Linked DNA regions of Homo sapiens: all the other regions are linked to region 1. The links are contacts of gene promoters, found by promoter capture Hi-C in human tissues and cell types (Jung and others, 2019). All regions are on one chromosome and are shown on one strand. The core of a region is centred on a gene start or on the middle of the fragment in contact, and the rest is flanking DNA. Distances in the headings are between cores, read along the strand shown. Region 1 holds the start of STK32B (serine/threonine kinase 32B). Region 2 overlaps STK32B (serine/threonine kinase 32B). Region 3 overlaps STK32B (serine/threonine kinase 32B). Region 4 overlaps STK32B (serine/threonine kinase 32B).

Evidence for each region. Contacts are between HindIII fragments. The study calls those that stand out against the background at their distance.
Region 2: a contact is called between a fragment that was not itself captured here and the fragment with the promoter of STK32B in region 1, in 1 of the 25 tissues and cell types used here (dorsolateral prefrontal cortex).
Region 3: a contact is called between a fragment that was not itself captured here and the fragment with the promoter of STK32B in region 1, in 1 of the 25 tissues and cell types used here (lymphoblastoid cells).
Region 4: a contact is called between a fragment that was not itself captured here and the fragment with the promoter of STK32B in region 1, in 3 of the 25 tissues and cell types used here (H1 embryonic stem cells, IMR-90 fibroblasts and heart left ventricle).

What each region holds. Positions count from the first base shown.
Region 1 is chr4:5,048,086-5,055,938 of GRCh38, reverse strand. It overlaps STK32B (serine/threonine kinase 32B), which reads right to left and starts at 4,459. Exons shown (of 12, transcript NM_018401.3): 1 at 4,024-4,459. The coding sequence starts at 4,075. RefSeq lists an enhancer at 3,219-3,757. The HindIII fragment of the contact is 7,679 bases long and covers 842-7,853 here.
Region 2 is chr4:5,483,222-5,491,074 of GRCh38, reverse strand. The region is part of intron 11 of STK32B (serine/threonine kinase 32B); the gene reads right to left. Among named protein-coding and RNA genes, the nearest start is that of LINC01587, 37 kb to the left of the region's middle. The HindIII fragment of the contact is 4,995 bases long and covers 673-5,667 here.
Region 3 is chr4:5,347,791-5,355,643 of GRCh38, reverse strand. The region is part of intron 4 of STK32B (serine/threonine kinase 32B); the gene reads right to left. Among named protein-coding and RNA genes, the nearest start is that of LINC01587, 170 kb to the left of the region's middle. The HindIII fragment of the contact is 3,055 bases long and covers 2,446-5,500 here.
Region 4 is chr4:5,321,321-5,329,173 of GRCh38, reverse strand. All of the region lies in intron 3 of STK32B (serine/threonine kinase 32B), which reads right to left. Among named protein-coding and RNA genes, the nearest start is that of LINC01587, 200 kb to the left of the region's middle. The HindIII fragment of the contact is 4,391 bases long and covers 2,284-6,674 here.

The DNA of each region.
Region 1 (7,853 bases), core at 3,210-5,709:
GACAGACAATAACCAAGAAAATAAGTAAAATAAATATTATGATAGATGGTGATAATTTCCACAAAAAAAAATAAAGCAAGGAAAAGGATTTGGAATGACATTTTAAGTAGGGTGGTCAATGAGAGTCTAATGAGTCAACAACATTTTCCTGGAGACCCGAAGGAAGTGAGAGTGGGCTGGGGGGGAGATGCCCTCGGGCAAGAGGGGCAGGTGCCAGGGCTATGGTGTGAGGGTGCAGGGCATGTCAGACGAGCAGGAAGGAGGCAGGTGAGCCAGGAGTGACAGAGGAAGGTGCAGTCTCAGAGGGTAGCACCTGATGGGCATCTATAAGGACTTCAGCTTTTATTTTCTTAACGATGCAAGTTGTGCCTAGGGCTGGAGGGAGGATTTGAGGGTGGGCTGAGCAGAGCAGAGGACTGATCTGGCCCATGGCATGTTTTAACAGGATCACTCTGGATGCTGCATTGAGGGGACAGTGACGGGGGTAGGGACAGACCATGTAAGGACTTAGGGAGGTGACTGTAATAATCCAAGCAAGAGCTGTGACATGGCTTGGACAAGAATGGTAGTGATGGAGAAGGCAAGAAATGGCCAGAGCCAATTTATTCCCCTAAAAGCACTTTGTGAGCTCGGGCAACAGAGTGAGACCTTGACTCTAAAAAAAAAAAAAAAAAATTAAAAATTAGCCAGGCATAATGGTAGAAGCCTATTGTCCCAGCTACTTGGGAGGCTGAGATGGAAGGACCCCTTGAGCCTGGGAAGTTGAGGCTGCAGTGAGCTAAGATCCCACCACTGCCCTCCAGCCTGGGTGACAGAGTGAGACCTTTTGTTTTTTAAGAACAAAAAAGCACTTAATGTTGCTTTTCCATCATTTGCAACTGGAGGAGGCTCAGCTAACGTGCCCTTTTTCACCAAATGTTAGATGCCATCCACAGTAAAGCCACCATTATTTTATGCAACACTTGGAAAAAAAGCAACTCTGCCTATTAATCTGTGGCATGATCCTTTCTCTGCTTATTATATATCATGTGAGCGTGAACAGCTATGACCACTTGCACACAATGAGTTAAACTTTTGCCTTAGGAATGTGGATGACGGTCCTGTCACAATTACACAATGGCAAATATTTAGCTGTGGTTTAACATCAAAGTACTTAAAAATCAGACTTGTTCTGGTCAGGCAGGTGTTTGCATCTTCAACCTTCAACCACGCAATGACTATGGTTTGGGAGAGCTTGTTCACTGGACCATGTCACTCCCTGCTTAAAACCCTTCAGTGACTCCAAAATGCCTATAAGATCAAGTCCAAACACCTGACCACGGCCACTGGGCCCTTTAAGGCCGGCCAGGCATTCAGGGTTCATCTTTTGTGCCTTTCAGCTTCATACTCCACAATGCAGGAGTACTAAGCCCCCTCAATCCCCCCACATGAGCCAGGCTTACTCTTTACCATCTGCCTTTGCACATACTCTTCCCTTTCTCTGAAACGTCCTTCCCCCTTCTATCACCCACTTCTTCCCCCCAGGTAACTCCTGCCATTTCTGCAAGATGCCAGTCTAAAAGAGGAGGCCTTTTCAGATCCCTCCCCCCACTCTGAGTTAGGGACCCTCCTCCAGGATATCAGTCGCCTGAGCTCACCCACGTCAGGGCACTTACACACCCTGTGTTTTCCAGGTGGTTTACTTGCTCTGGGAGCAAATTGTTAACACTTTGCCTTCATCCTCCTCATATTCCCGGTCCCCAGCACAGGGGTGGGTACAGAAAATACAAATAGTAAATGCCTACGAAATAAATGAGTCGGTTGGTGGCAAGTAACACTGTTTTACCTGTACTAGGAAACGTGTGAGAGACATACTGGCAAAATCAAACAAGTTAATGTTTCACTGGGCTGGGCAATGGCAAAATGAGGAGAGCCCTAACCTTATATTTATTTATATTTATTTATTTATTTATTTATTTTGAGATGGAGCTTCACTCTTGGTGCCCAGGCTCGAATGCAATGGTGCGATCTCAGCTCACTGCAACCTCCGCCTCCCGGGTTCAAGCGATTCTCCTGCCTCAGCCTCCTGAGTAGCTGGGATTACAGGTTCCCGCCAACATGCCCGGCTAATTTTTGTATTTTTAGTAGAGTCGGGGTTTCATCATGTTGGCCAGGCAGGCCTCTCCTGACCTCAGGTGATCCGTCCACCTCGGCCTCCCAAAGTACTGGGATTACAGGCATGAGCCACCGCGCCCGGCCTCATAACCTTGTATTTTAACAAGCACCGAAACAGGCAGTTAACCTTAGGCCCAATCTGCTTATAGAATAAGGAACAGGAACAGGAAAATCAAAAGGTTGGCTACACCAGAGATAACTATTTTGCCAATGAATATTTTCAAGCTGGGGATAAATGACAGAGACGGTTTTCAATATAAGGGTGGCAAATTTCCTCTGTAAATAAAAGAGAAAGATGCTAGGAAAATTAGCAAAAGCATGACCTTTGACCCAGGCTAGAACCACAAGCCCGTGCAATTGAGGGTGATGCTGCATAGTGTTCAAACTCTTACTGGGACATGCAAGAGCCTCCATTACCTCTGTGCCCACCTCTCCTCTGTCCACAACTGGCTCCTTACCTGCTCACCTGCACATGCTCCAGACTAAAGATCAGGAAAAGCTGGGGCCTCTCTGTGCCCCCAAGACCCTGCACTGGTTTCTCAATGCCCTTATCACCATGGACGGTCATTCAGGGCCATTAGACTAGGAACTCCTTTAAGGAAGGCTCTCGTGGGCCTGACACAGCAGGTGCTCACTTAACCTTGACTGTGTTCATCTATCTTTTTGAGAAGGGCTGTCCAGGCAGGCATCTGAGTAGCACTCACAGCCTTGGGAGTTCTAGAAGCCATCCATGATGTACGCACACAGCCAGTGCCCTGGGTAATGATGACAGGCACAGCTTTCAAAGCAGACTGTCCTGCCTCAAGCCCAGCTCTACTTCTTACCAGCAGTAACCAGGACAGACCCCTTTCTAAGGTAGCCACCTCAAGGGGCATGAAAAGGATGGAGTGAACACTATGTGCTAGCATGGCTGGAACATAGTAAGTGCTCAGTATGTCTCAGCTCTTACCTGGGGCACAGTGGAGACTGGCGAGTCAGCACAGTAGGAAACCAGCTTTGAGAGGCAGAGGGCTCTTAACATAAAAAACGGCACAGCTCGGTACTGCTTGCATTTATAAGGCACTTTTCACGTGGATTACTAGTGGTTAAGCTTCAAACAACCCTATAAAGTAGCTAGTGGTATCATAACTCACATTTCATTGATGAAGGGACTAATGTTTCAGAGAGGTGAAGTAAGTTTTCCAGGGACACGCTGCACTGGAAAGAGGGTTCTGCTAGTCCAAATAGGGAGCTCTATCGACCTGAACCGCAAGGATCCAGCCAGGAAGTTGAGATGCGGTTGGACAGCCTACACCACTTCTGCGCCAGGGGGAGGCTGCCCAGAACAGGACGCCCTCCTAGGAACCACAGAGTTTAGCAAAGAAAAGTTTCCCTCTGTCCTGGGTGATTGAGGAGAGCTGCATCCAACAGGCCCTTGCACGAGACCAAATGCGTCGTGGGCACGCGCACACACACACAGACACACGGTGCAACCCGCCCTTCCAGGCCACCTCCGTCAGCCTCAGGCTCTCAAGGAAACCTCGGTTTCCTGGGGAGCCCGAGCCTAGAACCATCCCGACTGGCCTCCGAAGTCAACTCCTCCCTTCCACACCCCCAAGTGCAGGTTTCGGGTTCAACTCTCTGAAGCCGCCTCCCCAGTCCCGCGCTAGGCACCGTCCCGACTACTAAACGGCACTGGGTACCTAGGAGTTGCCTCAGCAGAAGCGCCGCGCCTGGCACGGGTCGGGCACACACTGCATTCGCTGGGCGAAGTGGCCATGCCTGGGTCCCCGCGCCGGGCAGCATGCGGTGCCCCGCAGGGCTCGGCCGAGGGTGGTGGAGGAAGGGGATGCCCCGCGAAGCGGGAATTCGCACCTCTCGCTCTCTTACCTTCCTCATTCTCGTCAAACACGGGGGGCTTGTGGGAGTGGTTCCCGCCCATATTCCGCCGTTGCTGCCGCTGCTACATGCCCGGCCGCTGGGATGCCGGATGCGGGATGTGGGACGCGCGCAGAGATGCGGGATGCCGGGGGCGCGCCCAGTCCGGGTTGTAGCCGCGCGCGGAGCCCGAGGGGGCCGAGCACCGTGCAGGGGCGGGGACGGCGTCCCCCTTCTCCTGGACGCCCTTCCGACTGCGCTCGCAGGGACCCCGCTCTCGCCGCGCCTTCCGCCGTGCCCCGCCTCGGGCTGCGCTCGCAGCTCCTTACTCCAGTGCCCGCCCGGGAACCCGGGAGCTCCTCGCGCCGGGGCCAACGTGCGGCGCTCCTCGCCGGCTACAGCGGGCGGGAGACGCGAGGCGGCGCGGGAGCAGGGGAAGGAGGGGAAGGAGCGGGGGAGGAGGGGACGGACGAAGGCAGCACGCAGTGGGCGGCGGCAGGGCGGAAGGAGCTGAGAAAGGGATCGGCCCGGAAGAATCTGAATCCCTGCTCGGCCCTCCTCCCTCGGCCGGGAGCTCGGTCCCTGCAGGCAGTAAGCGGTTTGTCAGCACCCACTATGGCCAGGCCTCGGCTACGCGCTTTGTTAGCACCATCCCACATCCGCCTCCGACAACCCAGCAGTAAGAAAGCATCGTTCATATTTTAGAGCGCAGTAGACGGAGGTCTAGAGGTAGAGGGGCTCTTAGGTCTGTGGTTAGTCGGCCCCGGCTGCGAAGGGAGTCCCAGGACTCCCCGCTAGCCTGTATTTGCCCATTCATATTGGGATGGGCAGTGGAGTGTCTGCTGGCTCTCCAACCGACGCTGTTCCTCTTAAGGTTTTTCTCAGTGTTTAATGAATGAAAGTATCTGTTTACTTTCTGACCCCTTAAGATTAGATACTAATCTGACCCCTTCATTGTACATGGGGAAACTGAGGCCCCAGACAGCCATAGTTTGCCCCAAACCATTCTCCCTGGGAATGGCTGGGCATGAGTCTCGGGATTCCCCCAAAATTGGGCGGCATCGGCGTCCGATTTAGGGGCGAGGCTAGCATGAGGGTCCCTGGGCTCCTGCGGCGGGAGCCTGGATCGGGAGATACGCGCCACAGTTGCGGGTGCCTAAGTAAGGGGTGCGGCAGATGCGCCCCAAGACGTGTGGGGCGAGCGCGGGTTCCCAGGACGCTCCCTGAGGGACAGGCAGGTCCCCCTGCCTTGCAGTCCTGCGGGCCCAGCTCTCCGGGACTGCAGGGAATCTTTGGCTACATCCTGCCATCTGCTGGGCGCCTGGAACCACTGTCCGTGCTTTGATAGAAAGCAGGGGTTCTTTGTGACTCTCTCCATCCTATCTCGTCCCCCAGTCCCCGTCCCCTACCTGGTCTCTCTCTCCAGTTCTCTCCCCTTCTTTCTTTTTCTTGGGAGAAGGGTGAGGGAAGCCGGGGAGACTCATACAGAAACAAAACAAAACAAAACAAAACAAAAAATCTCTTAAAGGCAGTGGGAAAGAACTGAGAAGGTCTGAGGCAGGCCCACCCACCATGACCCAGAGCTGGCTCTACCATTTACTGGCAATGTGTCCCACTTTGGAGTTCTTATCTGCAAAGTGGGCTGATTGATATTAACTCCTTGGGTTGTCTGTGAGAATTATATCAGGTAATATTTATAAAAGCAGGCAACAGTGCCCGGCATATAATAAATGATGAATAAATATTTCTTGCCTTTCATTCCACCAACAAGCATACACTGAGTAGCCAGTGTGCAGCAGGCAATGCCCTGAACACAGAGCTGGCCCCTAGCTCAAGAAGCATAGGGCGGAATGTGGACAGGCATGGGCTCTGGGCTCATTCTACCCAGGTTTCATTCTGCTTTGCCCCTCATTAGCCAGTTAACTTGGATAAATTACTTAACCTGTTCTGGACTCAGTTTCTTCATCTGAGTCCAGAAGGTGCTAATAAGAGAACTTTCCCTTTCTAACATTGTTATGAGGAATATATTGATATTGTGCTAGGCCGGGCGTGGGGGCTCACACCTGTAATCCCAGCACTTTGGGAGGCTGAGGCGGGTGGATCACCTGAAGTCAAGAGTTTGAGACTAGCCTGGCCAATATGGAGAAACCCCATCTGTACTAAAAAAACAAAACTTAGCTGGGTGTGATTGCCAGGCCTCTGAGCCCAAGCTAAGCCATCATAACCCCTGTGACCTGCACATATACATCCAGATGGCCTGAAGCAACTGAAGAATCACAAAAGAAGTGAAAATGGCCTGTTCCTGCCTTAACTGATGACATTACCTTGTGAAATTCCTTCTCCTGGCTCAGAAGCTCCCGACTGAGCACCTTGTGACCCTCGCCCCTGCCTCCCAGAGAACCCCTTTGACTTTAATTTTCCATAACCTACCCAAATCCTATAAAACTGCCCCACCCATATCTCTCTTCGCTGACTCTCTTTTCGGACTCAGCCCGCCTGCACTGAGGTGATTAAAAAGCTTTATTGCTCACACAAAGCCTGTTTGGTGGTCTCTTCACACGGACACGCATGACAGAAATGTCACCCACCTGTAATCCCGGCTACTCGGGAGGCTGAGGTGGGAGAATCCCTTGAACCTGGGAGGCGGAGGTTGCAGTGAGCTGAGATTGTGCCACTGCACTCCAACCTGGGTGACAGAGTGAGACTCCGTCTCAAAAAAAAAAAAACAAAAGAAAAGAAGGCATTGGCCAGAGAGGGTGCTGGCGCTGAGACTGGAAGGGCAAGGAATCAACCGGGTTGGAAGAAGAAAGGAGGCTACTGGTGCAAAGTTCTCCAGGCCTAGAGAGTGGGACACTTTGCAGATGCTGGGAGATGTTCCACACGGCTGGAATTAGTCTTGCAGTGCAGTGTTCAGTGACAGCGTGCATGTGTATTGAGAACTCTGCATGTCCAGCTCTGTGCTAACTCTTTGCAGGGTGCTAGGACCTCCGGCAACCCCTTCACTTCTCTGCTCCCCATCCATAGAGAATGTGCCTGACTCTGGTACTTCAAGCGCTCTGCATGGATTTTCTCATCCTCACAGCAACCCTGAGAGGTAGGTGTGTCACCATCCCCACTCTGGAGGAGACTGGGGCACAAATAGGCTAAGCCAACTCAAATGGTTGAGAAGTGCAAAGACCTAAGATTTCAATGCAGAAATTGGCCAGGTGTGGCGTTTCACGCCTATAATCCCAGCACTTTGGGAGGCCTAGGTGGGAGGATCACTTGAGGTCAGGAGTTCGAGACTGGCCAACATGGTGAAACCCTGTCTCTACTAAAAATACAAAAATTAGGCCAGGCACGGTGGCTCACACCTGTAATCCCAGAACTTTGGGAGGCCAAGGTGGGTGGATTACCTAAGCTCAGGAGTTCGAGACCAGCTTAGCCAACACGGTGAAACCCCATCTCTACTAAAAATACAAATATTAGCCAAGCGTGGTGGCAGGCACCTGTGACCTCAGCTACTCGGGAGGCTGAGGCAGGAGAATTGCTGAAACCTGCAGAGAGTTGCAGTGAGCCAAGATCGCGCCATCGCACTCCAGCCTGGGCAACAACAGTGAGACTCCATCTCAAAAAAAAAAAAAAAAAAAAATTAGCCAGGCATGGTGGTATGTGCCTGTAATCCCAGCTACTCAGGAGGCTGAGGCAGGAGAATGTCTTGAACCTGGGAGGTGGAGGTTGCGGTGAGCCAAGATTGCGTCACTGCACTCCAGCCTGGCAACAGAGTGAGACTTTGTCTCAAAAAACAAACAAGTAAAAAAAAAAAACAGAAAATTATTCCCTCACCATTCTGGAGGCCAGAA
Region 2 (7,853 bases), core at 1,921-4,420, 440 kb before region 1:
AGGACTATAAATCATGCTGCTATAAAGACACATGCACACGTCTGTTTATTATGGCACTATTCACAATAGCAAAGACTTAGAACCAACCCAAATGTCCAACAATGATAGACTGGATTAAGAAAATGTGTCACATATACACCATGGAATACTATGCAGCCATAAAAAATGATGAGTTCATGTCCTTTGTAGGGACATGGATGAAATTGGAAATCATCATTCTCAGTAAACTATCGCAAGAACAAAAAACCAAACACCGCATATTCTCACTCGTAGTTGGGAATTGAACAATGAGAACACATGGACACAGGAAGGGGAACATCACACTCTGGAGACTGTTGTGGGGTGGAGAGTTGGGGAGGGATAGCTTTAGGAGATATACCTAATGCTAAATGACGAGTTAATGGGTGCAGCAACCAAAATGGCACATGTATACACATGTAACTAACCTGCACTTTGTGCACATGTACCCTAAAACTTAAAGTATAATAATAAAAAAATTTAAAAAATTAAAAAAAAAGACGAGGCTCTGCTATAATAAAATAACTTATCTTTTAGGCCTCCTGACATAATTTAGTCACATTATTCTTTGTCCAATTCAGTATATTGGCAACCTAGTCAAACTGCCTTACCCCAAATTTGGTTGACAGCCTTCATAAGACTGCCTAACAGGCCAGGCGTGGTGGCTCAAACCTGTAATCCCAGCACTTTGGGAGGCTGAGGTGGGTGGATCACCTGAGGTCAGGAGTTCAAGGCCAGCCTTGCCAACAAGGTGAAACCCCATCTCTACTAAAAATACAAAAATTAGCTGGGCATGGTGGCACACACCTGTAATCCCAGCTACTCGGGAGGCTGAGGCAGGAGAATTGCTTGAACCCGGGAGGTAGAGGTTTCAGTGAGCCAAGATCATGCCACTGCACTCCAGCCTGGGTGGCAGAGTGAGACTGTCTAGAAAAAAAAAAAAAATGCCTACTTAAAACAACAAAAAGATCTTAAAATTTAGCCTTATCTCATTTTTTTCAAAAAATAATTTGGGTCCAACCATCAATTGTAAACCAGTGAGTTTGTATTACTATCCAATGACAAAATTCTAAAATAAAAACTACAAGATCTTCATTTGTATGTATATATGTCTGTCTAGATGTATTTATGTATATATACATGTATTACACTGTATCTTCTGTTTACATAATAAAATCTGATGTAGCCAGCCAGAAATCTCTTAAGAAATTGTATTTTGATTGATTTCAATAAATGAGCACTCATATAAAATATACAGTAATTAACCCATTTTATAAAGTTCATGTCACGTAAGTAAATCTTTGGTAAACTAGTTGGTTGAGGCAGGGGAATCGCTTGAACCTGGGAGGCGGAGGTTGCAGTGAGCCAAGATTGTGCTGCAGCACTCCAGCCTGGTGAGAAAGCAAGACTCCATCTCAAAAAAAATAATAAAAAATAAATAAAATAAAATAAAATTGTTGTTAATGAAATAAAATTTAAAATGTCTTCATAATTGTCTACATACGTTTTTTTGCCTGGGTTTACTTATCAGACAGTTTTATATTTTGCTTTTTCTATGTTTTCAGATCATAAGGCTATGAACCCAGCCTAAAACAAAATGATCTTCCTGCAATTACTTGATGAATAGAATTAATTAAGTATTGCTAATTTAATCAAAACAGCCATATTTTCTGAGTTATGGACAGGAAACCATGCATTTAACTTTAGGGTTCTTGCTTAGGTAAACAATTGATATTTACAGGCTAAAAAATTATTAATAGAGAAAAAACTTGAAATGATGATTAGCTTTGTCTAATATCTCAATTCTCATAGGTAATTTAGGTAAGCTATTAAAAATTAATAAAGCAGATAAACGTAAATTGGACAAATGTCTATGAATAAACTTTTCATGTGATTTGAAATCTTAAGGTTATGTTTAATTAATAGGTACTCATTAAATGTCTGGGTCATTTTCAATTACGACTTCAAATTATAAACTGGTTCTCGTTCAAAATATTGATACATGACAGACAATTAAAGATCTTGAGTCCTAGAGTTTTACTAAAATTCAAGGTTACTGAGAGTTAAAAATTTTAATTAACATATAACATTCTGTATATAAAATATAAAAATATGAAGTTTTTAATAAGAATTATAAGACAGACATAAAATATATTCTTTATTGAGAAAAAAATGTTTTGTCTAATTCAGAGGCTATTTAGAGGTGGTTTTAAAATATAAATCTAGCAAGAAAATAGAAACAAGATATAAAAGAACTGGTAAGTAGGAGAGAAAGATGTGAAGAAAGTTATAGATATGAAGATAAATTTTTGCTAAGGAAGGTTGCAAAGAAAAGAGACTAATTTTGAATGAGAAAGAATCTTGTGTGGTAAATTTTTGTCCTCAAATAAAATGACTGAGTTATTTAAGGAGGAGGCAGAAGACAAAGCAGAATATTTAAGGCATGTCATGCATGGTCTATGTGAGTCACAGAAAGGCTTGTGAAAGGGAAATTTATGAAAGTAATGTGTGTGATCAAGTTGACTACAATTAAAAGGTAATTATTTATGATAACCTTTCTAACAACTGAGTTTTGACATTCAAAATACATTAGTAAAAAACTAAAAAAAAAGTTCCCTATATTTAAATAAAAAATGTTTTTGAAATATTGATCTGCTCTTAATAAAATTGCAGGATGTTCTGTTTGTTAATTCTGGATTCCAAGTCCAGAGTGCTCACCATTACACCATAAAATCTTACATTGATTTTGTTTTCTTTTTCAGACGGAGTCTCACTCTGTCACCCAGGCTGGAGTGCAGTGGCGTGATCTCAGCTCACTGCAACCTCTGCCTCCCGGGTTCAAGTGATTCTCCAGCCTCAGCCTCCTGAGTAGCTGGGATTACGGGAATGTGCCCCATACCTAGCTAATTTTTGTATTTTTAGTAGAGACAGTGTTTCACCATGTTGGTCAGGCTGGTCTGACCATATAAGAATAGGGTTATCAGGTTGTAACTCTGTACATTGTTTATGAATTCTTGTTATCTGCCTATAGACCAGCCTAGGTCCTAAATTAGAATTCTTCAAATTCAACTCTCTTTTTTAAATAAAATTACTAAAATGAGACTTGCTTTGTTCCTAAAGCCTGATACATTGAAACTAGATAAATTTTAAGGAGCAGGTTTCATGCCTCATGTGTGGGCCACAAAGAAGGTTCACCAAGCTTCCTGATGCCATAACCAGAGACATTTAAACTGCAAACCAAAATAAGAAGGGGGTGTTTTCCACACTGTAAACAGCTTATCCTAAGGTGTCAGAACGAGACTCCATATCAGAATAAGACTCCTCCCCTCCTCGATGCTACCTTTTTCATTTGGCAGGATAATGCTGTAATTCACATTTTACAATACGTAATTGCTCTAGGCTATTTTGACGATAACCCTAGCACAGCTTTTTGGTCAAGTTGTATTGGTGATTTCTTTTGTCAGTTGACATTTTCTTCTTTAAGTCAACCCAGTCATAAAATGTGACTCAATGGCTACAACACGTCTCACCCAGTTTCCTCCACAGTCTTTAGATTTTAGTTTGTTGCCCTTAGGCTTCGGCTGTGAGTTCAAAATCATTGTACAAACTAATTGTATTGTGTTGTTGTTAATCATTTATCATATTATAATTGTATTATAATTTTTAAACTTTGCTCTTACTGCCTCTCCAATCTTTGTGATGCCAAGTCTCCTAACAGGATAATGTTAACTCAACACTTCCAGATGACTGCTCATGCCCATGGACTAATTAGATGGAAATCAATACTAGACCACAGTCAAACCCATTCTGGGAAGATTTTTCCTTCTGGCCTTTTTGTTACTTTACTGTGGTTTGGGTCCCTGACAAAGACCCACATATCTTCCCTGCAACATGGGACAGAGACAACTGGGACAGATCCATTCTGGTGCTGAGGGATAATTAAGCCTAACTACAGCATGGTTGATCAACAACACTTTCAGAGAAACAGCTTGACCAAAAAGGGAACTTGTAAAAACTGATCATATGAACTGGGTCATTCTTGTCATACCCAACTGAAATACAGTAAATGACCTGCTGCAATTCTAAGACTGGTTTTGCCCACTGCTATTACTTACCAATCAGAACTTGCTAACTGCTCAACATCTTACTGGTGCCAGTGAAACTTCTCAAAGAGCAATATGTAATATTTCTCCTTCTTATGAAACCTCTAACCTTCTCTTTGTTCTTTGGACATACTTAAAGACCAGCCAATCTGCAATGTATGCCCTGAATTGCAATTCTTTCCTCCCAAATAAAACATTTTAGGGGGGTGGAGCCAGCTCCAGTCCCCTAAATAGGAACTGCTCCAGTGTACAGCTCCCAGTCTACAGCTCCCAGCATGAGCGACGCAGAAGACAGGTGATTTCTGCATTTCCAACTGAGGTACCAGGTTCATCTCACTGGGGAGTGTTGGACAGTGGGTGCAGGACAGTGGGTGCAGCGCACCGAGCGTGAGCCAAAGCAGGGCGAGGCATCGCCTCACCTTGGAAGCGCAAGAAGTCAGGGAATTCCCTTTCCTAGTCAAAGAAAGGGGTGACAGATGGCACCTGGAAAATCAGGTCCCTCCCACCCTAATACTGCTTTTACAACGGTCTTAGCAAACGGCACACCAGCAATTACATCCCGCGCCTGGCTGGGAGGATCCTACACCCACGGAGCCTCGCTCATTGCTACCACAGCAGTCTGAAATCAAACTGCAAGGCTGCAGCGAGGTTGGGGGTGGGGCGCCCGCCATTGCCAAGGCTTGAGTAGGTAAACAAAGAGGCTGGGAAGCTCGAACTGGGTGGAGCCCACTACGGCTCAAGGAGGCCAGCCTGCCTCTGAGACTCCACCTCTGGGGGCATGGGCATAGCCAAACAAAAGGCAGCAGAATCCTCTGCAGACTTAAATGTTCCTGTCTGACAGCTTCCCCGAAAGTAGTGGTCCTCCCAGCACGCAGCTGGAGATCTGAGAACGGACAGACTGCCTCCTCAAGTGGGTCCCTGATCCCCGAGTAGCCTAACTGGGAGGCACCCCGCAGTAGGGGCAGACTGACACCTCACACGGCCAGGTACTCCCCTGAGACAAAACTTCCAGAGGAATGATCAGGCAGCAACATTTGCTGTTCACCAATATCCACTGTTCTGCAGCCTTCGCTGCTGATACCCAGGCAAACAGGGTCTGGAGTGGACCTCCAGCAAACTCCAACAGACCTGCAGCTGAAGGTCCTGACTGTTAGAAGGAAAACTAACAAACAGAAAGTACATCCACACCAAAACCCCATCTGTACATCACCATCATCAAAGACCAAAGGTAGATAAAACCACAAAGATGGGGAAAAAACAGAGCAGAAAAACTAGAAACTCTAAAAAGCAGAGTGCCTCTCCTCCTCCAAAGGAACGCAGCTCCTCACCAGCAACGGAACAAAGCTGGAGGGAGAATGACTTTGACAAGTTGAGAGAAGAAGGCTTCAGAAGATCAAACAACTCCGAGCTAAAGGAGGAAGTTTGAGCCCATGGCAAAGAAGTTAAAAACCTTGAAAAAAATTAGACGAATGGCTAAGTAGAATAACCAATACAGAGAAGTCCTTAAAGGACCTGATAGAGCTGAAAACCATGGCACGAGAACTACATGACGAATGCACAAGCCTCAGTAGCCGATTCGATCAACTGGAAGAAAGGGTATCAGTGATGGAAGATGAAATGAATGAAAAGAATCGAGAAGAGAAGTTCAGAGAAAAAAGAATAAAAAGAAACGAGAAAGCCTCCAAGAAATATGAGACTTTGTGAAAATACCAAATCTACATCTGATTGGTGTACCTGAAAGTGACGGGGAGAATGGAACCAAGTTGGAAAACACTCTGCAGGATATTATCCAGGAGAACTTCTTCAGTGTAGCAAGACAGGCCAACATTCAGATTCAGGAAATACAGAGAACGCCACCAAGATACTCCACGAGAAGAGCAACTCCAAGACACATAACTGTCAGATTCATCAAAGTTGAAATGAAGGAAAAAATGGGAAGGGCAGCCAGAGAGAAAGGTCGGGTTACCCACAAAGGGAAGCCCATCAGACTAACAGCTGATCGCTAGGCAGAAACTCTACAAGCCAAAAGAGAGTGGGGGCCAATAATCAACATTCTTAAAGAAAAGAATTTTCAACCCAGAATTTCATATCCAGCCAAACTATGCTTCATAAGTGAAGGAGAAATAAAATACTTTACAGACAAGCAAATGCTGAGAGATTTTGTCACCACCAGGCCTGCCCTAAAAGAGCTCCTGAAGCAAGCACTAAACATGGAAAGGAACAACTGGTACCAGCCACTGCAAAAACATGCCAAATTGTAAAGACCATCGAGGCTAGGAAGAAACTGCATCAACTAACGAGCAAAATAACCAGCTAACATCATAATGACAGGATCAAATTCACACGTAACAATATTAACCTGAAATGTAAATGGGCTAAATGCTCCAATTAAAAGAGACAGACTGGCAAACTGGATAAAGAGTCAAGACCTATCCGTGTGCTGTATTCAGGAAACCCATCTCACGTGCAGAGACACACATAGGCTCAAAATAAAGGGATGGAGGAAGATCTACCAAGCAAATGGAAAACAAAAAAAGGCAGAGGTTGCAATCCTAGTCTCTGATAAAACAGACTTTAAACCAACAAAGATCAAAAGAGACAAAGAAGGCCATTACATAATGGTAAAGGGATCAATTCAACAAGAAGAGCTAACTATCCTAAATATATATGCACCCAATACAGGAGTACCCAGATTCATAGAGCAAGTCCTTAGAGACCTACAAAGAGACTGAGACACCAACACAATAATAATGGGAGACTTTAACACCCCACTGTCAACATTAGACAGATCAATGAGACACAAAGTTAAGAAGGATATCCAGGAATTGAACTCAGCTCTGCACCAAGTGGACCTAATAGACATCTACAGAACTCTCCACCCCAAATCAACAGAATATACATTCTTTTCCACATCACACCACACCTATTCCAAAATTGACCACATAGTTGGAAGTAAAGCACTCCTCAGCAAATGTAAAAGAACAGAAATTATAACAAACTGTCTCTCAGACCACAGTGCAATCAAACTAGAACTCAGAATTAAGAAACTCACTCAAAACCGCTCAGCTACATAGAAACTGAACAACCTGCTCCTGAATGACTGCTGGGTACACAACGAAATGAAGGCAGAAATAAAGATGTTCTTTGAAACCAACGAGAACAAAGACACAACATACCAGAATCTCTAGGACACATTCAAAGCAGTGTGTAGAGGGAAGTTCATAGCACTAAATGTCCACAAGAGAAAGCAGGAAAGATCTAAAATTGATACCCTAACATCACAATTAAAAGAACTAGAAAAGCAAGAGCAAACACATTCAAAAGCTAGCAGAAGGCAAGAAATAACTAAGATCAGAGCAGAACTGAAGGAAATAGAGACACAAAAAAACCTTCAAAAAATCAATGAATCCAGGAGCTGGTTTTTGGAAAAGGTCAACAAAATTGATAGACTGCTAGCAAGACTAATAAAGAAGAAAAGAGAGAAGGATCAAATAGATGCAATAAAAAATGATAAAGGGGATATCACCACCGATCCCACAGAAATACAAGCTACCATCAGAGAACACTATAAACACCTCTACGCAAATAAACTAGAAAATCTAGAAGAAATGGATAAATTCCTGGACACATACACTCTCCCAAGACTAAACCAGGAAGAAGTTGAATCTCTGAATAGACCAATAACAGGCTCTGAAATTGAGGCAATAATCAATAGCTTACCAACCAAAAAGA
Region 3 (7,853 bases), core at 2,724-5,223, 300 kb before region 1:
GAAGCCACAGCTCCACCTAAACATCCCACAGTGCACAGGACAGCCCCCATAACAAGGGATTATCTGGTCCAAAATATCAATAATGTCAAGGTTGATAAATTCTGCCAGTGCCTTCAGAATCTCATCATAAGTTCTGACAGATAAGAAAAAGTTAACCAGGTGGATAGAACAAATAAAAGCATTTCTTAAAGAGAGATAATCATGCAAAGGAAGAAGAGAGGTAGAAAACATATGAACTTGGAAGAAATGGAGGTAGTCTGGGCATGTAGACTACTAGGGTCTGTGCATGGAGCCAGACGAGGGTTGCAAGAGTCAAGTCTGGAGAGATGGGCACGGGGCAGGCTTATATATAAGGTCCTCATATATTATAACGATAATAGCAGTGGGCATTTTCACAGTGGCTCACATTTTTGATCACTCACTAGGTACTAAGCTTAAACATGCATCACACGTTATTTCAGTTTGTTTTCTCAACATCCCTGTGGGGTAGAGGATTCGTTTCCTGTTGCTGCTTTAACAAATTACTCCAAACTTCACGGATAGAAACAACAAAATGTATCTGGAGGTCAGAAGAACAGCATGGAAAGTCAAGGTTTTGTCAGGGCTGTGTCCCTTCTGGAGGCTCTTAGGGAGAATGTTTCCCTCCCTCTTCCAGGTTCTAGAGGTGTCTGCATTTCTTGGCTCATGAAATCATCAAAGCCAGCTACAGCGGATTAAGGTTTGAGTCTTTCTCATGTTGCATCAGTTTGACACCCACTTCTGCCTCCCTCTTTCACTTTATTTTTTAGTTTTTATATTAATTTTTAAAAATTTAATTTATACATATTTGACCTATTTATGGGGTACATACAATTTTTTAATGTGCATAGAATATGTAATGTTCAAGTCAGAATATTTGGGATATCCATCACCTTGAGTATTTATCATTTCTATGAGAAATATGAAGTATTTTAAGTATTTTAAGTTTTAAGGGAACAATTTAAGTTCAAGCTCCTAGCTACTTTGAAATATACAATATAATGTTGCTAACGAGTCACCCTTCTCTGCTATGGAGCATTAGAACTCACACCTTCCATTGGGGCCAGGCGTGGTGGTCACGCCTGTAATCCCAGCACTTTGAGAGGTCAAGGTGGGCGGATCACCTGAAGTCAGGAGTTTGAGACCAGCCTGGCCAACATGGCAAAACCTTGTCTGTACTAAAAACATAAAAATTAGCTGGATGTGGTGGCATATGCCTGTAATCCCAGCTACTCAGGAGACTGAGGCAGGAGAATCCCTTGAACCCAGGAGGTGGAGGTTGCAGGGAGCTGAGATGGCGCCACTGCAGTCCAGCCTGGGCCACAGAGTGAGACTCCATCTAAAATTGTACACATAGATCTATTTTTCTTCACCCCCTGCAATCTACATACCCTCTCCAGCCTCTGGCATCTACCATTCTACTTTCTATCTCCATGGGATCAATATTTTCAGCTCTTGCACATGAGTAAGAACACTCACAATTTGTCCTTGTGTGTCTGGCTTATTTCACTTAACATAATGACTTCCAGTTCCATCCATGTTGCTGCAAATGACATGATTTCATTCTGTTTCACGGCTGAATAGAATTCCAGTGTGTCTATGTATCACATTTTCTTTATCCATTTGTCTGCCAATGGACACTTAGGTTGATTCCGTATCTTCGCAATTGTGAATAGTGTGGCAATAAATATTGGCATGCCTGTATCCCTTTGATATACTGATTCATTTCCTTTTCATAAACACCCAGTAGTGGGATTCCTGGATCAGATGGTAGTTCTAGTTTTTTGGAAATCTCCATACTGTTTTCCATGGTAGTTGTACTGAATTACATTCCCACCAACAGTGTATCAGAGGTCTCTTTTCTTTACATCCTCACCAGCATCTGCTATTATTTTGTCCTTTTAGTAGTAGTCATTCTAACTGGGGTAAGATAATATCTTCTTGTTCTTTTGATTTTCATTTCCCTGATGATTAGTGATGTTGAGCAGTTTTTCATATACCTGTTGGTCATTTTTATGTCTTCTTTTGAGAAATATCTATTCATGTCATTTGCCCACTTTTTATTTTTATTTTTTTTTTTTACTGTTGAGTTCCTTGTATACTCTGGATATTAGTCCTTTGTCAGATGAATAGTTTACAAATATTTTCTCCCATTCAAAATGTTGCCTCTTCACTGTATTAATTGCTTCCTTTGTTGTGAAGAAGCTTTTTAGTTTAATATAGTACCATTTGTCTATTTTCATTTCCATTGTCTGTGCTTGAGGTCTTAGTCATCAAATCTTTGCCTAGAGCAATATCCTGAATTGTTTTCCTTGTTTTCTTCCAGTAGTTTTATAGTTTATTGTCTTACATATAAGTCTTTAATCCACCTTGAGTTGTTTTTTGTATATGGTGAGAGATGAGTCCAGTTTCATTCTTCTGCATATGATATACAGTTCTCCTAGCACCATTTATTGAAGAGGGTGTTGTTTCCCCAGGTACGTTCTTGGCATCTTGGTCAAAAATCAGTTACCTTAAATATGTGGATTTATTTCTGTATTTTCTATTTTTTTCCCATTGATCTATGTGTCTATTTTCATGCCAAAAATATACTGTTTTGGTTATAATAGCCTTATGATATTCTGAAGTCAGTTATTTTGATGCCTCAAGCTTTGTCCTTTATGCTTAGGATTGCGTTGGCTATTTGGGCTCTTTTGTGGTTCCCTATGAATTTCGGATTGTTTTTTCTATTCCTGTGAAAAATGATGTTGGTATTTTCATAGAGATTGCTGTGAATCTGTAGATTGCTTTGGGTAGTATGGTCATTTTAACAATATTAGCTAGTTAATTATTGATGAATCGAAACTGATGATTTTTGTATGATGATTTTGTATCTAGCCACTTTACTCGATTTATCAGATCTAAGAGTATTTTGGTGCAGTCTTTCGGTTTTTCTAGATATCATATCATATCATCAGCAAAGAGGGACAAATGACTTCTTTTTTAGTTTGGACGTTTTTTTTTTTTTTATTTCTTTCTCTTTTCTGATTGCTTTGGTCATGATTTTCAGTACTATGTTGAATAGGAGTGGTAAAAGTGGCATTCTTGTCTGATTCCAGTTCCTAGGGGAAAGGATTTCAGCTTTGCCCCATTCAGTATGATGTTAGCTGGGGTTTTGTCACATATGGCCTTTATTTTGTTGAGGGATGTTTCTTCTATGCCTAGTCTATTGAGAGATTTTATCATGAAAGGATATTGAATTTTATCAAATTCTTTTCCTGCATCTATTTAGATGATCATTTGTTTTTCCTCCTTAATTTTGTTGATGTGATGTACTAAATTTACCGATTTGCATATGTTGAACCATCCTTGTGTTCCTGAGATAAATTCTACTTGATCATGTGGATTAATTTTTGATGTGTTGCTGGATTTGGTTTGCAAGTATTTTCTTGAGAATTTTTACGTCTAAGGTCATCAGGAATATTGGCCTATACTTTTCTTTTGTTGCTGTATCCTTGTCTGGTTTTGGTATCAAGGTAATGCTGTCCTCATAGAATATGTTAGGGAGAGTTTCTTTCTCTTCACTTTTCTAGAATAGTTTAAGGAAAACTTTGTTAGCTCTTTGGAAGTTTGGTATAATTTGGCAGTGAAGCCATCTGGTCCTGGACTTTTCTTTTTTGAGAGACTTTTTATTACTAATTCAATATCATTACTTGCTGTTGGTCTGCCCAGGTTTTCCATTTCTTCCTGATTTAATCTTGGTAGGTTGTATGTCTTCAGAAATTTATCTCCTTTAGGTTTTTTAGTTTGTTAGTGCATAATTGTTCATCATGGTATCTGATGATCTTTCGTATTTCTGTGTTATCAGTTGTAATGTCTTCTTTGTCATTTCTGATTTTATTTGGGTTTCTCTCTTTTTTCTTATTTAGTCAAGCTGGTGACATATCAATTTTATCTTTTCAAAAAACCAACTTTCTTTTTTGTTGATCATTTGTATTTGTTTAGTCCCTATTTCATTTATTTAGCTCTGCCCTGATCTTTATTATTTTGTCCTTTTATTAATTTTGAATTTGGTTTGTTCTTCTTTTTCTAATTCCTTGAGGTAAATCATTTGTTTATTTGAAATCTTTCTACTCTTTTGATGTAGGCAGACATTTATTGTTATAAACTTCCCTCTTAGCACTGCTTTTTCTGTATCCCATTCGTTTTGGCATGTGTGTCTTGGTTTTCATTTGTTTTAAGAAGTATTTTGACTTTCTCCTTAACTTCTTTCTTGAACTAGTGGTTATTCAGGGGCATGTTGTTTAATTTCCATGCATTTGTATAGTTTCCAAAGTTCCTCTTGGTATTGATTTCTAGTTTTATTCCATTGATGCCTGAGAAAACATTTGACATAATTTCAATTTTTAAAAATTTGTTGAGACCTAACATATGGTCTAGCCTGGAGAATGTTTCATGTACTGATGTATTCTGTAGCTGTTGGATGAAATGGTCTTAAATGTCTGGTAGGTCCTTTTGGTCTTATGTGGAGTATAAAACCAGTGTGTTTCGTGGTTGTTGTTGTTGTTGTTGTTAATTTTCAGTCTAAGTGATATGTCTAATGCTGCAAGTGGGATATTAAAGTCCCCAACTGTTATTGTACTGGAGTCTATCTTTCCCTTTAGATCTAATAAAATTTGCTTTATATATCTGGGTGCTCCACCATTGGGTGCATATATGTTTATATTAAGCCCTTTATCATTATATATTGACCTTCTTTATCTCTTTTTAAGTTTTTGACTTAAAGTCTATTTTATCTGATATAGTAGAGCTACTCCTGCTTATTTTTGGTTTTTCTTTGCATGGAATATCTTTTTCTATCCTTTTACTTTCAGTCTATATGTGTCTTTACAGATGAGATACATTTCTGGTAGGCAGGATATAGTTGGGTCATGCTTTTAAATCCACTCATCCAGTCTATATATTTTAAGTAGAAAGTTTAATCCATTTACATTCAATGTTATTATTGATATGTGAGGGTATATTCCTGTCATTTAATTAATTGATTTCTAGTTATTTTGTATATCCTTTGTTCCTATTTTATTGTTTATCATTGCGTTTTGGTGGTATTCTCTACTGGTAACATTTGAGTTTTCCCATTTTTTGTTTGTGTGTTGTTTTACCAGTGGTTTTCATATTTTTGTGTGTTTTCATGGTGGGAGTTATCATTCTTTCACTCCCAGGGGTAGGGTTCCCTCAAGCATTTCTTGTAGGGCTGGTCTAATGCTGATGAATTATCTCAGCTTTTGCTTGTCTGGGAAAGACTTTATTTCTCCTTTATTTATGAAAGACAACTTTGAGTGTAGCATCCTTGACTTGCAGTTTTAAATATTTTTTTCTGAAAAATCTGCTATTAACCTGATGGGAAGTCCTTTATAAGTGACTAGATGCTGTTCTCTTGCTGTTTTTAATTTCTTTGACTTTTGACATTTTGACTAGAATGTGCCATGGAGTAAACCTTTTTGAATTGTATCTATGCCAGGACCTTTGAACTTCTTGTATCTGGATGTCTAAATGTCTTGCTAGACTTGGAGAATTTTCATTAAATAGGTTTTATTTCCCTTCCTTCTCTATTCTCCTTCTGGGACACTGAAAATTTGAATATCCAATTGATTTATGGTGTCCCATATGTCACATAGGCTTTGCTCATTATTTTTTATTCTTTTATCTTTATTTTTGTCTGACTAGTTTATTTCAAAAGATCTGTCTTCAAGTTCTTTCCCCTTCTTGATCTAGTCTATTACTGAAGCCTCTGAATGTATTTTGTATTTTATTAAATGAATTCTTCAGTTCCAGAATTTCTGCTTGGTTGTTTTTTATATCTATTTCTTTGGTAGATTTCTCAGGCATATCCTGAGTTGCTTTTCTAATTTCTTTGCATTGCTTTTCAATATTCTCTTTTATCTCACTGAACTTTAGTGTCAATATTTTGAATTCTTTTTTTAGGATTCAATACATTTGTTTTTGATTGGGATCTGTGTTGCCAGATAATTACTGTGTTCCTTTGGGGTTTCATATTTCCTTGCTTTTTCATGTTTCCTGTGTCCTTACATTGTTACCTGTGCATCTGGCATAATAGTCACTTTTTTCAATTTTTTGAATTTGCTTTCATAGGGGAAGACTTTTTCCTAAAGATGTGTATATTGTGTTGGCAGTGTAGAGAAATTTGGCTTTGGTTCTGGGTGGGTGCAGCAGTGTAGTCTCTGTATGGTTTCTTCAGGTATAAAACAGCATTGATAGTGTCTGTTGTTTCCTTGGTGGCTTAGTATGTTGTTGTTTACGGAGGCTCTGCTGAAGTTTTGCTGGGCACTGGGATACAAGGTGGGCCAGTCTTTGGGCCACATTGGTGGCAGTGATGGAGTGCATGTGCCTGTCCTTGGGCCCCAGGGTGGCATATACTGGCACTGGCTTTATTTGTTCCAGGCAGGCCAGCTCTTGGACCTCTAGGTGGCTTTCTCAGGTGCTAAGAATGGCAGTAGTGGGCCAGGAAGTTTGGTGGGTTCTCAAGCTCCTGAGTAGCAGGCATGACATGAATGATGGGTAGTCACAATGGTAGAACAACCCTTTGGAACCCAAGCAGTCCATGCTGGTATTTGTAGTGGCAGTGATGGGCTGGGCAGGCCAGCCCTCAGACCTACAGGTGGCACATGTGGGTGGGTACCTGCTGTGATGGTAGTGGCAGGCTGACTGGGCCTGACCTCAGACTCTGGAAGGAGTGTTAAGGTGCCATCAGTGGTGGACTGGGTTGGATGATGATTCCCCCAGGTCCCTTGGCTGCATGCTCAGGTACTGGTGAGGGGTGAAGCTGTGAAAGGCAAAACTGTCCTCAGGCCCCCTGATGGTGCATGCAGACACTGCCTATTGTAGGCAGGGTTGTGGTGATCCTCAGGCCTCTGGTGGAATGCTCAGGTGAAGGTGGCAGTGGCTGTGCCAAAGCTCTGTTACTGAGTAGTGTGGGGATGCTGTTAGCGGCAGCAGCTGTAATCAGGCAACTTGGGGGTGTGCACTTTGCTTGCACTTCAGCCCCACAGCACCCTGCAGCAGTGGGTGGGAATTTGTCCTCACAGCACATAAAAATGTGCAGTCACCCCTCTACTAGAGGTCGGGTGGTGTCACTGCCAGTTGCTCCCTCCTTGGTTCCTAAAGCAACGGCTATGGGTGGGGAATGTCCATGGGATTCCAGAGATGCAAAAGCGCAAGGGGTGTTGGGCCCTAGGGAAGAATGCAGTCTGGTGTGGCTGGGCTCTCAAAATGGCAGCCTGCTGCAGCTGCTTAGGACTGGGAAGAAGGTGTGGGACACAGAATGGACTCCCTCTCTGGAGCAGTGCCTTCCCACAGTCTCCATGCAGTTCCTTATGTTAGTCTCAGGGGCCAGAAAGATTGAGGGGCTCTCCCATGGCTAGGACTGTAGGAATCTGTTGTGGGAATCTGGACCCCTGAGGGGTCTCTCACTTTTTATTTTCCAGCATTAGGGAACCTCTCCTAACAGCCTATCCCAGCCAAATGGGTTGTCCTGCTTCCCTCTCCTTCCTTGCTTTTGGTGCTTCCCATCACTTTTCTGTTGAACTCCTGTATTCTCTCTTAGATGATCTACTCAGAGTGGTTATGTACTCATTATTTTGTTTCCTCTCTGTCTTATTCCATTATCATGCTGCTATAAAGAACTACTTAAGACTGGGTAATTTATTTTTTTAAGAAAAGAGGCTTAATTGACTCATAGTTCTGCATGGCTGGGGAGGACTTAGGAAACTTACAATCATGGTGGAAGGTGAGGAGAAGCAAGGCATGTCTTACCATGGCAGAACAGGAGAAAGAGA
Region 4 (7,853 bases), core at 3,230-5,729, 270 kb before region 1:
TCTTTCTCCCAGGCTGTTCTGTGCTGAAAGGCCCTTCTGCCTTTCTAGGCAGAGGCACCCAGAGTACCCAGGACGTTCCCAATATTCCTGTCACAGTTTCAAGGCACTATTTCCAGAAGTTTCAGTTAGAATATTTTTGTTTGCCCAGAAAGTTTTTATTATTGTTGGTATTATTAATTATTATTCTCACTCTCACTCTTGGCCTCCCAAAGTGTTGGGATTATAGGCATGAGCCACCGCGCCCGGCCACCAGCTGGACTTCAGATCTGTTTCAGGGCCAGTATAACCTCATCCATGCTCCTCCCCCTCAACAAAGAGAGGAGCATGTAAGTAATACAGCCTCGCTGGGAAGCACAGGACTACCTTGTTTTACTGCACTTCACTTTCTTACAAATTGAAGGTTTGCGGCAACCCTGCCTCCAGTAAGTCTATCAGTGTCAATTTTCCAATAGCATGTGCTCAGTTTGTATCTCTGTGTCACATTTTGGTAATTCTTGCAAAATTTCAAACATTATTATATCTCCTATAGTGATCTATGATAAATGGTCTTTGATGTTACTATTACAATTGCTTTGAAGCTCCTCAAATGGCATCCATATAGCACCCAAAGCTTCATGGATAAAGGTTGGATGTGTTCTCATGCTCCACTGACCAGTAGTTTCCCATCTCTCACTTTCTCCTTGGGCCTTTCTATTCCCTGAGGCATAACAATATTGAAATTAGGCCAGTTAATAACTCTACAAAGGCCTGTAAGTGTTCAAGTGAATGGAAGAATCACACATCTCTCAGTTTACATCAAGTACTAGAAATGATTAAGCCTAATGAGAAAGACATGCCAAATGCCAAGATAGGCTGAAAGCTAGACTCTTACAACATAAAGTTGGCCAAGTTATAAATGCAAAGGAAATAAAAATTGCTACTCCAATGAACGCATGTAAGACATGAAAGCCAAACAGCCTTATTGCTGATAGGGAGGAAATTTTAGTGGTCTAGACAGAAGATCAAATCAGCTACAACATTCCCTTAAGACAAATCCTAATCCAGAGCAAGGCCTTAACTCTCTTCAGTTCTATGAATGCTGAGAGAGGTGAGGGAGTTGCAGAAAAAGAGCTGGAAGCTAGCAAAGGTTGGTTCATGAGGTTAAAGAAAAGACGCCATCTCCAGAACATAAAAGCACAAGGTGAAGCAGCAGGTGTTGATGGAGAAGCTGCAGCAAGTTACCCAGAAGATCTAGCTCAGATCACTGGTGAAGGTGAATACACCAAACAGGAGATTTTCAAAGTAGATAAAATAGCAAATAGCTTTATATTGGAAGTAGATGTCATTTAGGACTTTCATAGCTGGAGAGGAGAAGTCAATGCCTGGCTTCAAAGGGTCAAAGGAAAGGCTCTCTCACTAGGGAGGCTCTCTTGTTTTAGCAGCTGGTCACTTTAAGTTGAAGCCAATGCTCATTTACCATTTTGAAAATACCAGGGCCCTTAAGAATTATGCTAAATCTATTGCCTGTGTTCTATAAGTGGAATAAAAAACCCCAGATGACAGCACACCAGTTTACAGCAAAATTTACCAAATATTTTAGACCCAATGCTGAGACCTACTTCTCAAAAAAAAATTCCTTTCAAAATATTACCACTCTTAGTCACCCAAGAGCTCAGATGGAGATGTACAAGATTAATGTTGTTTTCATGATAAAACAACATCCATCCTGCAGCTAATGGATAAAGAAGTAATTTTGACCTTTGACACTTATTATTTAAGAAATGCATTTTGTAAGACTATAACTGCCATAGATAGTGATTGCTTTGATGGATCTGGGCAAAGTAAATTGAAAATCTTCTGGAAAGGATTCGCCATACTAGATTGTCATTAAGAACATTCATGATTCATGAGAAAAGGTCAAAGTACTAACATTAACAGGAGTTTGGAAGAAGTGGATTCTAACCCTCATGGATGACTATGAGGGGTTCAAGACTTCAGTGGAGGAAGGAACTGCAGACGTGGTAAAAGTAGCAAAAGTACTAGAATCAGAAGTGGAACCTGAAAATGTGACTAAATTGCTGCCATCTCACGATAAAACGTTAAGAGATGAGGAGTTGAGTTGTTTCCCCTAAGGATAAGGAAGAAACGAGCTTCTTGAGATGGAATCTGCTCCTGATGAAGGTGCTGTACACATTGTTAAAATGACACAAGAGGTTTAGAATATTACATAAGCTTAGTTGATAAAGCGGCTGTAGGATTTGAGAGGACTGACTCCACTTTTGAAAGAAGTTCTACTGTGGGCAAAATGCTATCAAACAGCACCACTTGCTATAGAGAAATATTTCATGAAGTGAAGACTCCATCATCGTGGAAAGCTTCATTGTTTTCTTATTTTAAGAAATTTTCACAGTCACCCCAACCTTCAGCAACCACCACTCTGATCAGTAAGCAGCCATCAACATTGAGGAAAGACCCTCCACCTGCAAAAAGACTGTGACTTGTTGAAAGAAGGCTCAGATGAGTGTTAGCATTGTAGCTAACAAGTATTTTAGATGAAAGTATGTACACTTTTTAGACATAATGCTGTTGCACACTGAATACAGTGTAGTATAAACATAACTTTTAAAGGCACTAGAAAACGAAAAAATGTCAATAAGACCTGTCTAGGGAGAGAACCTGCAGAGAGGGAAGCAGGGCTGGGAGCTAAATGCAGAAAGAGGCACTGTTGGAGGTACTGGCTCCCACCTAGTCAGAAGAAAGATCCATCCCTGAACTTCATATTTACATGGGCAATGACTGTTTTTATTTTTTTTAATTAAGCTACTTTACTTTGAATTTCTGTGACTTGGAACTGAGTTACAACTTTTCATGTATTTGCTACTGGATAGAAGAATATAGATGCCCCAAAAGAAAACACAGGAATCAAACATAATATGCCGACTACAGATGCACAATTTGTATTCTAATAGTTGATGGACTATTGAAACATTGCATTAATAACCAGCGAGTTCTGTACTCTCAACTCACAGCTAAACTGTCAAAGGGCATCTCATTCAGTATTCCATCACAACTCTTTGGAGGAGCAACATGAATTTTCAGAGGGAAACTTGCATACTGGAATGAATTCTAAAGAGGAAAATCAAAATGCTAAGAGAACAATATTTTAAGCAATAATTCAGGTTGTGGCTTTTTCTTGCTGCAGATCCACATTCTTCACCAGGCCACAGACCCTACATTCCCAGAGACACTCAATATTATTACTGGAGAACACAGAATGACCTTTCATTTATCTCTCTGTAGTTTTGCACTATTCTACAGCTTTGTGACATTGTCCCTTTTGCTTCTTGTATTAGAATTAGAATTATATTCTCATAATAGTGCTGAACATTGTCATGGAAATGATGGAGATCACAAATAAGAAAGCTAAGCTCTATCACAGTAACTCTGACCTATGGAAAAATCTGGAAAATTAGGCTCTCCTTGCAAGAGCAAAGAAAATTGTGTGCTGTGAAGGCCTAAATCCTGGCCTGGCTATTGCAATAGAACTGCATAAAGAATGCGATTTTCCATGTTTTATTTTTTAAAAAATTATTAATTTCCTACTTTGTTCCAGAAAGGATTCAGGTGACTTGTGAAATGTATATAACATAATAGAATTAAAAATAAGGAAGACAAAGATCAAGTCACAGAATAAAAAAGAAATCCAAGAAAACAGAATCAGGAAAAAATACCCCAATTTATGCCTCAAGATCCTGTATGCTTCCCTGAAATGGCCCATCAATGTGTCTCAAATCTCCCCAGCACACAGAGCAAAAAGAGAAACATGATCAGCTACATGATTCAGAGCTGATGTGGAAAAAAAAAACAATTGTTTAGGAAAAGCAAGATTTTTGTCCTGGTACTGAAATCAGTGGGAAATTTCTTCCACTGGATTCTTATGAAGATGGTGTTCTGTAATGTGGTGAACCATGAGTCTACATAAAATAACTCTAAACACAGTAATAAGTGGAACAGGAATTTTTTGCATGATGTGCTTCAAGGTAGGCTGAAGGCATTAAAAATCCAATTTCATAGAAGCAATGCCACATGGGGTAAAGCAATGAGGCTGTGCGTCATGCTCACGGATGAACTTTCTTCATACCAGGATAAATTTAGAGCAGAGCACGAGGTGAATGTTCTTCAGGGACTACTTCACGAAGACAGGCTCGCACGCACAGCAGCAAGTACTCAGTAGGCTTCTCCCATGCATTTGGTCCTTGCAAGAAGCCAAGGATTTAGTGGGAGAAGTCGGCACATGAGTGCTCACCTGGGCTTAAGATTTCATAAGGGAGCCCAGATTTTGCCGTCATGTTAGGACAAGTCCCTGGATGGACCCACACTCTCACAATTCCACACGTTCACCCACAATATTCCTTATTCCTGGTGTACCACCTCTGTCCTCTTGTCCATCACTCACTTCTCAGCATAGTGCAGGGTTCCCAAACCCAGAGCAGTTTTGCTCCCCTGGGAACATTGGACAATGTGTGGAGACAGTTTTTGTTGTCACAATTTGGAGGGATGCTGCTGTCATCTAGTGAGTTGGAGCCAGAGATGCTGCTAAATATCCTACAATGCACAGGACGGCCTCCACCACAATCACCTACTGCAAAATGGCAACAGTGCTGAGGTTGAAAAACCCTGCTTAAGACTGACGCTCCCTCCTTTAAGAAGCCTTCCCTAACCCCGGAAACTGAGGCAGGTGACCCCCTAGTCCCTTATAATAATAACAGTTAACACTGATGTGGTGCAAATTCTGTGCCAGACACCGTTCTAAGTGCCTTATTTTCTTATTTTTATTTTTTGAGATGGAGTCTCCCTCTGTTGCCCAGGCTGGGGTGCAGTGGTGCAATCTTGGCTCACTGCAACCTCTGCCTCCTGGGTTCAAGCAATTATCCTGCCTCACCCTCCCCAGTAGCTGGGATTACAGGCCCATGCCACCACACCTGACTAGCTTTTATATTTTTAAAAGTGACAAGGTTTCATCATGTTGGCCAGACTGGTCTTGAACTCCCGACCTCAAGTGATCTTCCTGCATCGGCCTCCCAAAGTGCTAGGATTACAGGTGTGAGCTGCCGTGCCCGGCCTAAGTGCTTTACGTATATGCGCTCATTTAATGTTCCCAACAATCCTTTGAGATAGGAGTTATTACAAACTGCCTTCGATAGCTCAAGACCATGAGGTTCAGAGAGATTAAGTAACATGTCCAAGATGACAGCCAGGGAATAGCAGAGCTGGGACTGAGCCAAGATAGTCCATGTCCAGAACCTAGACTCTGTGCTTGATGCCCTATAGCACTTTCCTTGTGGCCAAGTCACCATTGCTCTTCTGGTCTCTTTTCCCCACCAGCCAGTGAACTCTGAGTGCAGGGACCTAGCTAATTCAGCACCATCCCCTGCATTTAGCACATAGCCAGGAGCATTCCACACACTCCGGAATGAAAAAGCCACAAACGCCTGAAACACCCATATTCTGTGTGGCACATTGGGTCAGTCAATGATGTCTACACAGAAGTGGGGCATTGTACAGAAAAAAGACAGAGGGTAGAGGGTTGATGGGGAAGGAAGGGTGCTAGGCCCTGCTGTTTATGTCACTACCTACAGGAACCTCCTTTTTCTCTGGCCTCTTCTTGTCACAGAGACCAGGGACTCCCATTAGCCTGAGTGACTCACCAGTCTCTCCCCATAGCCGTCTCCCTCCCTTGCAGGGTGCAGAAGTGATAGACCTGATGAGGGAGTCCAGAAGAAGCAGCCGTGCTCAGCACAGTCCCCTCGGGCTCCCCTTCTGCTTCAGAACCTGCTCATAGTGGGCTTACACTCCTGTCTGCTCTCTGCAACAGCCAGGGCCTGGCTGGTGGAGGGGGACTTGCAGGTGATCACCGTTTCCTGTGCCTCGGAGGTGATTCCATTTCAGAACTCAAGAGGTAGCAAGCCGTTTTGGCTACCAATCTAAAGTGGGTTTCTCTGACTGACTGTTAGCATGAAGTGGATACTTCCACCTCCACCTGTCAGACTCCTGTCTCTCAATTAGTCCTAAAATCGAGAAGGGAGGAGAGGTGCTCTTCACAGACCCCCTGCTCATCCCTTAACACTTGTCCCAACTAACCGTGGGACGTGGGCATTATCACCCTCAATTGCCCAATGGAGGAAACCAAGGACAAGAGAGGTTGACTGGTCCAAGGTCACTAGGTCAGTTTTCTTGGAAAGCATGTCATGTACTCAATCATCAGCCTTGGAGGCTGCTTACAAACTAAAGGTCAGCCATGCTGATAACACATGAAATACACGTGAACACATATGAGGGAGGCAGTGCCTGTTGCTGGGGGAAATCTGGAGTTGGAAAAGCTTGGTTCAGCTCCTCCTCTTACCTGATGAGTGACTGACTCTCCATCTCACCTTGCCCAGGGCCTGGCAAACAGTGTAGCATCCACAAACCTTGTGCAGTTGTTAAAGGTAGGGGAGGGCTGGAAAGGGAAAGGAAGAGTCTGGAGGAAACCCTAGACCTTTCTTAGTCTCCAGGCAGCACAATGCCACTTGAACTATTTGAAACAGCCACCTTTCTCCACTTCTTCTTCCTGAGGCAAAAGTCACTGGGTGCCCAGAGATGACTCTGTGGGATTCAGAAAATCTTGGCAGCCAGGACAAACCACATGTCTACAACACTCATCTCCTGTGTTTTTACTGTGTGGCAACTGCAGGGGCAATGAGCTGAGCATCTCCTCAGGCCACTTTCCATTCCATCTGACCTCCGAGGGTAGCAGATGGAGGGGAGGTCTCACTCACTATGCTCACCTCTAGCGATTCTTAAAAATGTAACAGCCAGCAAGAGAGGAGCTAAGAATAGCCTCACACGCTACAGAAATCCAACAATGGAGCGCTCGGCCTTCTGACAGCTCATATTGTACGAGGAAAAAAGAGCTTATCAAGCCTGACTTGTGCCTGATACATGTCTTTAATAACATTCACAATGATAAGCTTATTATTATTTTTCATAGACAAAATCTTGCTGTGTTGCCCAGGCTGGTCTTGAACTCCTGTCCTCAACCAATCCTCTTGCCTTGGCCTCCCAAAGTGCTGGGATTACAGGTGTGAGCCACTGTGTTCAGCCAGCCCAACCCCCCACCCCCACTCCCACCACTTTTTTTTTTTTTTTAATTTGACTTGAGGCACAAGAGTCTTGAAGCCACTCAAACATGATGGCTCTCATTGTTCTTCACACTGGACTGATTCTCCTATCTCCTTCCCAGGAAGTCGAAGGACGCTGGTTAGCTTCCAATGGCCTCCCGTAGACCAAGGCGACAAGATGAGAACCTCTCAAAGCCATCCAGCACCTCCAGGCAGAGGCAGTTGGGGGCAGGAGCAGTCGCGTGATGAGGTGAAGGCAGGCTTCAGGTCCACGGTGCCCCCGTCCCACTGGAGGGGCTTTGCAGACTGTAAAGTGCTATCTATCTGTATAAATGCAGAATATTGCCCTTGTGCCTTCATGGTTTTATTTATTTCAATCTATATCCTTCATGCTTCTAAAGAATTTGTAGTGGCTGACAAAGGACAGGTAAGACTGATAGAGGAGATAGTGGGAAAAATGTACAACGAAGGAGAGGCACACGTACTGTTCACGGGGACAGACAGTGAGCCTGAAACAGTAGCTCCTGCTCCCTTAGCAGTGGAAAGAAAGCAAAGGGCAATGGGGAATGACCAACACAGCCCTCACCACTTGATTAAATAAGATGAAGCCAAACTGCTCTTCTTGGGCCAAATTCCAAAAGACATTTATAACTTGCATTCTCTTACAAGGGGCATTGAATGAAAGAATGGGAAAGGATAAATGATAACTCACAT